Linked DNA regions of Homo sapiens: region 1 is linked to region 2. The links are contacts of gene promoters, found by promoter capture Hi-C in human tissues and cell types (Jung and others, 2019). All regions are on one chromosome and are shown on one strand. Each heading gives the region's core, a stretch centred on a gene start or on the middle of the fragment in contact. The rest is flanking DNA. Distances are from core to core; before and after follow the strand shown. Region 1 overlaps ELFN2 (extracellular leucine rich repeat and fibronectin type III domain containing 2). Region 2 holds the start of CYTH4 (cytohesin 4).

Region 1 (5,542 bases), core at 2,084-4,583, 110 kb after region 2:
TTCTTCCCAAGCTCTTCCTTTATAGGCCCGATCTCTGCCTAATGGAGCTGCAGGCGACACGGAACGGGTCCCCCATTCGCTGGCAGATGCCCCAATCCATCTCCATTATGCCTGGCGCTAAGGAGCACTGCAAATGAAGCGTGATGATGCCACCGCCAGCATCACTCCTGCTGGCTCTGACCCGCCTGCCACCTCCACCTAACATGCACACCAGGCTGCGACTGATGTCCACAGGCCCAGCTGCCACCTCGTACAGATGCAGGGATGGAGCCTTTGCTCCTGGCCCCACTGGCTGTGTGACTGTGGGCCCCTTACTGAAACTCTCTGTGCCTCAGTCTCATCATCCAAATTATGTCTGACTCCACCCTCTCCCTCGTCTCTCATTTCCCATCCACCTCGACACCTCTCCAGGCCACACACCTGTGTGTCTGCTGCCGCCCCTCCGTCCAAGCTTGTCTGGATGGCAGCACCCACCTCCCAGGGTCTCTAGTGTGCCCCAAGGTCCTCCCCTCCCTCTGCTCGGCTCGGGTGCTGTCTTTTATGGACTCACCGAGGCCTCTTTCTTAATACCCTTTCAGCCGCTTCCACAGTTCCCAGGCTAAAGCCAGACGTCCTCCTGAAGGTCAAGGCCCCTCAGGGGCCTGGCCCGGCCGCCTGTTCCAGGCTCCCTCCCGCCCTCCTCCCGGGCAGCCTCACCTCTCCCAGGATGACTCCTTGGTGAGTGTCCAGCCCCCGTGGACCGTCAGGGGGCCGCAGTGGCCAGCACCGTGAGTCCTCCCCCGCAGCTCCCGCCCCGGCACACAGTAGGCAGAGCGATCCCGCAGCTTAAAGGAATGCCCCCATCGAGTGCAGACAGCAATTTCATCCTACGGGCCGTGGTGACTGTCAACAGTGCCTCATACGCTGTAAATGAAGAACTCTTCACTCCTCGCCTGGGACTGAGCACTGGGTTGGCTGCCGCAAACTCAACACCAACCCCCGACCTTACAGGGTGTCAAGATAAAGATCGTCAGGCCAGGCGCAATGGCTCACGCCTGTAATCCCAACACTTTAGGAGGCCGAGGCGGGCGGATCACGAGGTCAGGAGTTCGAGACCAGCCTGGCCAACATAGCGAAACCCCGTCTCTACTAAAAATACAAAAATTAGCTGGGAAAGGGGGCACACGCCTGTAGTCCCAGCTACTCGGGAGGCTGAGAGGCAGGAGAATCACTTGAACCCAGGAGGCAGAGGTTGCAGTGGGCCAAGATCACGCCACTGCACTCCAGCCTGGGTGACAGAGTGAGACTCTGTCTCAAAAATAAATAAATAAATAAATAAATAAATAAATAAATAAATAAATATTGTTGGATTAATTTCTCAGATGAGAAAACGGAGGCTCAGAAAGACAAAGTGGCCTCACAGCGTCACAGCTGGTAAGTGGTGAGGCTGGGATTCAAACCTGGCTCTGCCTGTGCCTGGTTCCAGCACCAGAAGAAACGTCCTAGAAGTAGTCAAGGAGCATCAATCGAGTGCCGACCACACGCCAGACCCAAGTAGGCATTTACATCAATCACTTCATGAAAACCCCTCCACGGCCCTGGGAGACGGGCACTGTTATTCTACCCATCTGAGACACGAGGGATCAGGCCCAGAGCAGTGAAGCCACTTCCCAAAGGCACACAGCTAAGAAGTGGCAGGGCCTGAGACACACCAAGGTGTTGTCCCCTCTAGCTCTGCCCAGATCTCCTTCCCAGCCTCCTCTGCTGTCAGGGGCACTCTAGGGAGAGAGGCACCCCTTGGCTGGCTCTGTGGCAGCCAGGAGCTGAGCAAAGTCCTTCTCTACCTGGGCCTTGGCTTCCTCACCCACGGGGGGCAGGGGATGTGGACAAGACAACCTGGGGGTCCTGTCAGCACTGGCACAATATCCGTGCACCCAGGGGCCCACCACACACCAGGTCCTGGGCTTGGCACCGTGGGCTGCAAAGACCTGCAAAACTAGTGTCTGGCGTGCAGGGCATCACCAAGGGAGGCCCAGGGTGGGAGGGGCAGGGAGCCACCTGTTCAGGGCTCAGGGGACAAGCAGGGTGCAGGTCCCTGTCTGCTGTCAGCACAAGCACCACAGACCCAACAGGAAGCCAGAAGAAGGGTCACGGACACAGCTGAGCCCCCAGATACCCGAAGCTGGTGGTTAAGTGGGAGGCTCAGCACCTCTGAGGACCCGCTACCACCGGAGGGCTGGAGACCCCCGGAAGGGGCTGCATCCAGCTAACCAGACATTCCACATCCGATGAGCACCTAGCCTAGGATTTCAGGCACACCGTGGAAAACACAAAGACAAGCCAGGAACTCACAGACGGACAAATGCGCCAGAGACTTTGCTATTTAAAGAAAGCTTCCTGTGAATTATTTTATAAACTAAGTATCAGCCTCCAATTCCCCATCAAAAGCTTGAATTTTCAGATTGGGTTTGCTGAAAGTGAGCTAACACTCCTGGCTTTCTAGGTGCTTCTGTATTGCACACCCCAAGGGTGGGACGAGGGCTGTGTCCCCACCATGTCCCCGGCCCCCAACATGGGGCCAGCGTGCAGAAGAGGCTCAGCAAATGCTGCAGAAGCCAACTCTGTTAGCGCACTCATTTCCAAACCCCAGGAGCAGAGCTGCTTGGGTGCCAGGATCCCCCAGCGGGCACACCTTGTGCCATCTACTTTCAGACCCTCTGGGGCACTTTGAAGGAGGTCAGAGCTGGCAGATCCCTTAGCACTACCCAGGCCCCTGTCATGCAGCAGGTGAGGAAACTGAACCCAGAGAGGACAAGAGCCTTGAGCCCTACGGCCTCCCAGCCACGCCCCCTTCCCTTCCAGGCGCCCCCTTCCTGCCCCGACCCACTAACCACTGCTGCTCCTCCAGGCTCTGTCCTTGGCCTGTGGCACCCTCGTCTGCCCTCTCCTCCAGGGTGGCTTCATGCATGCCCCTGGCTGCTCAGATCGCGCTCGGTCATGGTCACCACTGCCTGCCTGCTTGCTCAGGCCCAGATCCCAGCTTTCCCGTCAACTCCTGCCTCTCCCACTGGAAGATGAAGATCAGACCAGCCTCCAAGTCCATGCCAGGACAGGCCACTATCATCACTTGCCTATCACTCACAGGGATCTCCTTTTTTTCCAGGCAGAGGGAGGCTTCCGGAGGGCAGCTCTGATGCTGTCTCTCCTGCTCAAAATCTTTCTAGGGCTCCCTGCAGCCCCAGGGCTAGAGCCTAAGCTCCTTCTTGGTGGGTGACCACCAACACGGTGAACTCCTACCAGCTTCAGCTCGGGCATCACCGCCTCCAGGAAGCCTTCCTTGAATCCCTGGTCTGGCTTCACCACTCCACTCCACAGCACCCCCATGCTCACCAGCTCCAAGTGGCATCCCACTGAAGGGTCACTGTGTCCCCTCCAGAGGGCCAGGAAGCACGGCGTGCCCCTCTGTGCCCCCTCAGTGCCCCCAGTGAGAAGCCTGGCATGGAGAAGGCACCCAGGGAGTGAAAATTGAAAACACAAAAGAACAACATAGGCCCCCAGGCATGTAATTCCCAGCTGGCATCCGTCTCCACTCGCTCACCCCCACCCACGCTGAGTGTGCCCATTATTATGACTGATGACAGCCAGGCCTCCCAGCTCCTTCTGGCTGCTGTGACCATCAGGAAGCCGTCCAGTACGATGGCTCCCATGCTGGCCCTGCCCACAGGACAGTCTGGTCAGACGGGTGCAGAGGGACAGGGAAAGGAGGGGGAACGTGGACAGAGCCCCTGCTGGAAGCCTCGCCTAGACCCCAAGGTCAGCTGACTCTGCTGGCCTTGTGGGAGCCCCGCGTGACCTTCTTATGTGGGGACGTGGGGCTCTCACTTCCAAATGAGGAAACTGAGGCTCCAAGAGCAAGCAGCCGACCTGAACCCAGAGATCGGCATTGGTCTCCTGCCCACTTCTTCTTACATTGGATCCAGGAGCTTCCTAAGCACAAGGAGGGGAACGAGCTACCGGGCTGGGCATTTTACAGGCGTTCTGGGAGGCTGTGGGCACCCGGGAAAGAACACCAAGTCTGGGGTCCTCATAACCTGGACTCAGACCCTTGCTCGGTTCCCCTCAGCTGTGTGGCCTCGGCAGCCCGCGCAGCTTCTCTGAGCGGACGTCTGCACTGGTCCCTGGGGGTGCGAGGCTGCCCTGCAGGGTTGCTGTGTCAAATGAGACGGTAAGGACACAGCCAATAACAGCCGAACATCTTCCAGGCCACGCTGCGGGTGGATTATTGCATCTAATCCTCACAGTGACTCTGGGAGGCTGAGTCTAACAGGGTCCCCATTTGATAGACAATGAAGGTGCCAGGGTCAAACGCCTTACCCAGAGCCAGGCAGCTGTGGGCGGTGGAGCTAGCGCTCAGGCCTGGGTAGACCGTGCCGGGCACATGGAGGGCCTCACTAAACAACATTATTTTTTGACTCCAACCTGCCCTTTATTCCTCAAAGGCCCCTGAATATACTGGCCTCCAGCCTGGCCTCTCCCTCCTGCAAGCCTTCGTAGGGACTGTTCCAGCCACCTGCCGTGCCTCTCCTTCCACTTCCAGAAAGCAAACCTCTCACCCTTTACATTCTCATCAAATGCTACCTCTTCCACTGAGCCGCCCTGGGCTCCACCACCCCACTCCTGTCCGGCCCCTTCCCCCTACCCCAGTAAAGCCCCCCAGCACAGCAGTCTCCTAACTGACTGTCGCCTACCCTGCCTCAGCCCATCCTCTGCACAGCAGCCCAAGGAAGCCTCCCGCAGCGCACTCACATCGCCGCCCTGCTCTAAAGCCTCTGGCGCCTCCCCAGCTCCTCTGCTCCACAGTTTAGGCCCCTCATGATCTGGCTTGGCTCTGTCTCTGCAATGTGCCCTCCAATACCATCAAGACAAACTGCTCCCCGCTTCACACACGCAGGCGTGCACACACACGCATCTACACATGTCATGTGTGCACACATGTGCACACATGTACACCTCTCCAGCTGGTGCGGGATCTCCTAGGCTCCTCCCTTGCTTGGGCCTCTACTTCCACTCCTGCCTTACCCACCTTCCCACCTCCAGCCCAACCCCAGAACAGCACCTCCAAGAAACACCCCCTGTAATTCCTCAGCTCCCCTACCAGCTCCTTCCTGGAACACAGCATCCACCTGGCCTGTTCCCAAACACATACATGCTCCCTGCTGCTGGAAGACACAGCGTCCAGCCTTTTCCTGGCCCGGAGGGAGCTCAGGGGCCTCTGGTGTCCTCCCCAGACTCCTGGATCCTCCCTCCCCACTCCCAGGGATGGGCACGTGAGCTTCTTACCCCTCTCTGAACTCGGAGAGGCTTTTTGCAGCTCTTGGCCTTTCCCCTTGAGATTCCCCGGCCTGGAGTACCCTCCTGTCCCATCCCCGCCCAGTGAGTGCTACTTCTCAGGCAGGACTCAAAGCTGCCTCCTACAGGAAGCCTTCCAGCCCACCAGGCCTCAGCCACCCTGTAAGGACTGGCTGGCAAGTCTGCCCCTGTGTGGGCTTCCTGAGGGCAGGGA
Region 2 (5,030 bases), core at 711-3,210:
CATGAGCCACTATGCCCAGCCCACATTTCTAGTTTTAAAATGGCCAAGGGCATGGTTTGTGGTGCCTCAGGCCCAAAGCAGTTGAGAAAAATCTAGTTTACCATGGAAATAATTGTAACAAGTTTTCCAGAAAAGAACCATGAGTTATACAAGAACCCAGGTGGAGGCAGGGCAGGGGAGAAGCAGCGGGGTTCAAAAATCCTGAGCACACTAGACGGGGACTTAGTAGGCCTGGCTTCTGGGCCTGAATTGGCACTCACTCAAGTTCCAACTTGGTCAAGTGTTTCCCAGAAATAAGCCTCAGTTTTCTCTCCGAGGAAATGACAGCATTGGATTTCTTCTGTATCAGCAAGCTTTGGCTGCATAACAAAGCATCCCAGAAGTTGGTGGCTTAAACCACAAAAATGTATTATTTCCCACAGTGCTATGGGTCAGCAGTTTGGGTGGGACTCCGCTTGATGGTTCTTCTTCTGGTGTCCCCTGGCCTCACTGATGAGGCAGCAACCAGGGGACAGCCAAGACAGCCCAGCCTATCTCCTTGTGGTCCTCCGTCTTCCAACAGGCTAGCCCAGGCTTGTTCTCATGGTAGCCAGGCAGGGGGCTGAGAGCAAGAGCAGGAGCTGCAAGGCCTTTTAAAGCTCAGCCTCGAACATCACGGCACATCATTTCTGCCACGTGCTATTGGTCAAAGAGATGCCCAAGGCCAGCTCAGCTTCCAAGGAAGGAGAAATGGACTTCGCCCCTTGACAGCAGAAGCGGCGGCATAGTGAAAAGGAGGTGAACTTGTAGCTAGCTTTCACATCGGCCGTGATCTCTTCCATGTTCCCTTCATTCATTCATTCATTCATTCATTTGTTCATTCATTCCACACTTGCACACCCTCTATGTCCCCAGCATTTTACCACACACCAGAACACAAAAGGTAACCTTGCCCTCATGGGGCCTGGAGAGTAATGGGGAAACAGATGAATAACTCTGCATGTGTCCTGAAGTTATAGGGAATTCACATTTAATTTATACCTGTTTCTTTACAGCAAAGCTTTTTGCAGAAAGGATTTGAACCAACCTGCCAGAAAAGGCACAAGGAATAACATGATACATTTTAACCAAAGAAGATAATTAAAATCAAAGGAGAAAGTGTTTATTGAGCACCTACTATGTCCCAAGCATCTCCGACACATCCTCTCACTCCATGGTTTCCATATCCCCGAGTTAGTGTTATTCCCCTTTCAGAGATAAGCAAAGCGAGGCTGACTAGCCCTAGCTGAGAGTCAAACAGCTGAGTCAGGCCCCAAAGTTCACATGACATCATAGAATAGCTGTCGATGAGCTTTGGATTTGACGATGAGTTTCCCAGCAGCCTGGGGGAGAAGGAAAGTGGAACATATTACCCGATTGTTCACTAGACAAGAAAAAGCCAGATATTTCTTTGAAGGGAAGCAAAGCCCTTCCTAGCAGTGAATTCATTTGTCTCTTCTCAAGTGGGAGTTGGAAGAGAGCTTGTGGGGTGGAACACAGGGGGCCCTGCTAGGACTGTCCAAGTTGGGCGCTCCTATGGCATATATGTGAGGAGGCTGCCACGTGAATGCCCATGGTCCCCTGGAAAATGTTCGTCCTCAGTGAACATCGCCCTCGGTGTCTGTGCATGTGTACGTGTGTATGTGCATATGTGTCTGTGTGTTTCTTTCTGTCTCACTGTCTTTCTCTTTTTTATCTGGCCCTCCCCTCACTTCATCTGTTTGTTTGTTTGTTTGTTTGTTTGTTTCCACCTCTGTCCCTCCCTGGCAAAAGTCCCTGCTGCTCAAAACTCTGCCAGTTTTTAGGAAGTGCTGTTTTGTCAAAAGCCTGCACACGAGACCCCCGTGGGCCAGGACTGACTTCCTCCCCACACAGGGCTGGGCGGGGCAAGCAGGAAGGAGCCTGTTACAGTCAAGGTGACGCATCCTTGCCGGGCCAGCCCGAACAGCAGCTGGGTCGGCAAGCGACAGGAGCACGGGTCATCTTTTCCCCAGAGGCGTCGGAATGGACCTGTGCCACCCAGGTAAGCAACTGCCGTCAACCTCTCTGGGCCTCAGGGTGCTCTCTTTTAGAATGGGACAGCAGCCCCTGCCTCACAGGGTCCTAGATAAAGGAATACAGCGCAGGTGGGAAATGCAGCTGCAAGAAGCAAACATTTGTGGGCTCAGCCTGTGTGTCCAGTTGCGTTCTAGGGGCTGGACACACAGCAGTAGCAAAGCAGACGCTGTTTCCCCCTTCATAGGCTTGTGCTCTAGATGAGGAGACCGGCAGTGACTCTAATGTGATTCCATATGTCAGTTGATGGCAGGTAGGATGAAGAACAGTAAAGCAGGGTAAGGAAGACAGGAATGCATGGTGGAAAAGGCCCCAAGAGGAGATGCTGTCTGATGAGGGACCTGAGGAAGATGTCAGCTAAGGGGCTTTCTAAGGAACAAACATTCCAGCCAGAAGGAACAGCCAGTCCAAAGGCTCAGAGGTGGACTCAGAAAAGTGACTTGCGATTAAGATGATGATGGGATGTTGGTGATGGCGATGCTTGTCTGGGTGATACAAGGGCCTTGAGGCCCCTTTTTGGCCCCCGGGGGTTGGGGTGGTCTTTGGGGAGGCTGAGGACGCTGCCTAGAGCCAGGGGAGGGCCAGGAGTGAGCAACAGAGGCTCTGGTTGAAACCCTCCCCAGCTACTAAGACAATGTGTCTGGGGAGAAAGAGGAGAAAGGAGGCTGCAAAGATGGTGAGGAAAAGAACATCAGGGTCGTGTTTTGGGAGGCAAATTGAAGGCCCGGTAGAGGGGCCAAGTTTCTGCACCCTGGATGTCAGCATGCTCCAGAGCTGCAACAGTTCTGGTGAACACGGCTGCTGGAATTCCAGAACCTAAGGGCTCGTGGGAGCTGTCTGCTCCCCAGGTCCAGATGACCTCAGCCTTGTCCAGGAGCACCCTTGCTTCAAACGCACCTAATGTGGAGCAGCCTGGCCCCGCCCACTGGGCATCCCCCTTCCTCCCCACCCCCAGATGGAAGCCTCGGGCCCCAGGGAACCCAGAGAACCACTGATCCATTTCAACAGCCCCCCCAGTGGCAGAAGGGAGAAAAGAGGCCAAGGGAGGAAAACAGCCTCTCTAAGGCAGGAGCAGGACCAAATCCTGTTCCCTGAATCCCTATCCAGGGCTCACTCTGACCCCTGCCTCTCCCATGGGCTTTGGGGGCTCCCAAAATCACAGCTCAGTGAGCACAGCTTGGGGGCACCTGGTTGGCACAGGGAGACCCAGCGAAGGGCAGCACCTGGCTCAGGCCTCTCAGCAGACATGAGGGTGGGATGAGGGGGGGAGGGCACCCACCGAGATGCAACCCCCCTGCCTGTGTGTCCAGCAGGGCGCTTTGTCCTTTCGGGTCCTAACATACTGAGGTTACAGGGATGGCTGTCTCCATGTTGCAGATAAGGAAACTGAGGCTCCCAGAGGTGAACTAGAGACGGGGACTGACTTGCTTGAGGTCACACGGCCAGTCAGCAGCAGAGCAGGGACGAGAACCTGCGGGAGAGAGCCCCAGGTTGGCCGGGGCTATGGAGAGGGCAGGGGAGGGGAGTCTCTGCTTTGCTTCAGCCGGTACTAGGGAGGAAATGGATTAAATGGGGTCAATGGGTTCTCCATCGAGTAGTTGGTCTTTTCATTCATTCACTCTACAAACGACCTTCCAGTGTGCTATGCAGTGCTGGGGACAGCAGTGACCCAGCCATGGGCCTAACCCTGGGGGACAGGTGTTGGTCTGGAATGTTGGGGGTGGGGTGGAGAGGCAGGAGCCACATCCTGCAGGACCCTGACCCAGCTGTGCAAATGGACACAGACCTACAGATGGGAGGAAGCAACTTTTCCCACTGGGGCAGAGGAGATCTGGGAAGACCTCCTTGAGGAGGAGGCCAGAGGGAGGGAGAAAAGGTCATTTCCCTGTTGCCCAGACTGGGTCTTAAATGGGGCTTCTTCATGGCACGGTGACTTCCCCTCTCTGAGTTCTGATTTGTCATCTCTACGTGGGTGCCATCATCCTGGCCTGGCCTGGGGAAGCGGGGATTGGGAGTTAGCCGGACCTCGCTCAGGTTCCAGCTCTGCACCACCCTGCCAGTGGTCATGGTCTCTTCCTTCTATGGGCCTCAGTTTTCTCACCTTTATTATGGACAGGCTGGTGACTCAGGGGCCCCCAGGGCTGCCTCCCCTCCTCTCCTGAGGTGGGCCTGTGTCGGGAAGCAGGTAAGGCGCCCTCCCCCAGGGCCTGCCGGGAAGGTGAGAGGGCCAGACAGCAAAGCCCCAGTGTGGCCAAAGACAAGCACTGTGCTGGTGCAGAGAAGACAGGCAGCGCAGTTAAAAATAGAGCCAGCTCGGCTGGGGCGGTGGGGGGGCGGCGGGGGAGGAAGCCGCACTCCGCAGAGCCTGTGGGGCTTGTGGGGCTGGGGCGGGGAGCAGCTCCACCCACACCCCCTCTGCCCCAGGGTCCCTCCTACTGAGACTTTGAGGGGCCTCTTTATTTAGGGCCCTGAGATGGCATCCTCCTCCTGCCCTGGAAAGGGGAAGTGAGGCCAGCTGTCCTGGAAGCAGGGCTGCAAGCTCAAAGATTTCTAAAAATACGATGGGAAAGAGGAAGGACAAAGAGGAAGTGGGGAGGAGCCGGGGAGATGGGCACATTCACCAGCCTGGGCGCAAGGGCAGCACCAGCCTGTGGGCTTGGGGTGGGGGTTCATGTCACACCTTGTGAGGTTGTGAGAAGCACAGAGATAAGTGAGAAGGAAACGGGGTGTGTGGTGGTGGTGGTGGTGGTGGTAATTTTATTATTTGTGTGTATTATTATTAGTATTTAAAAATTCATCTCCTGGCCAGGCATGGTGGCTCACATCTATAATCCCAGCACTTTGGGAGGCCAAGGCAGGTGGATCACCAGAGGTCAGGAGATCGAGACCAACCTGGCCAACATGGTGAAACCCCCGTCTCTACTAAAAATACAAAAAAAAATTAGCCGGGCCTGGTG

The links. The method cuts DNA at HindIII sites, captures the fragments that hold promoters and counts their contacts. A contact is called where the count stands out against the background at its distance.
Region 1: a fragment that was not itself captured here is called in contact with the fragment with the promoter of CYTH4 in region 2 in 3 of the 25 tissues and cell types used here (H1 embryonic stem cells, IMR-90 fibroblasts and adrenal gland).

The regions. Positions count from the first base shown.
Region 1 is chr22:37,393,811-37,399,352 of GRCh38, forward strand. All of the region lies in intron 2 of ELFN2 (extracellular leucine rich repeat and fibronectin type III domain containing 2), which reads right to left. Among named protein-coding and RNA genes, the nearest start is that of ELFN2, 31 kb to the right of the region's middle. The HindIII fragment of the contact is 3,845 bases long and covers 1,412-5,256 here.
Region 2 is chr22:37,280,548-37,285,577 of GRCh38, forward strand. It overlaps CYTH4 (cytohesin 4), which reads left to right and starts at 1,961. Exons shown (of 13, transcript NM_013385.5): 1 at 1,961-2,041. The coding sequence starts at 2,023. RefSeq lists enhancers at 1,720-1,769, 3,316-3,365, 3,978-4,087 and a silencer at 4,318-4,437. The HindIII fragment of the contact is 18,046 bases long and covers 697-5,030 here.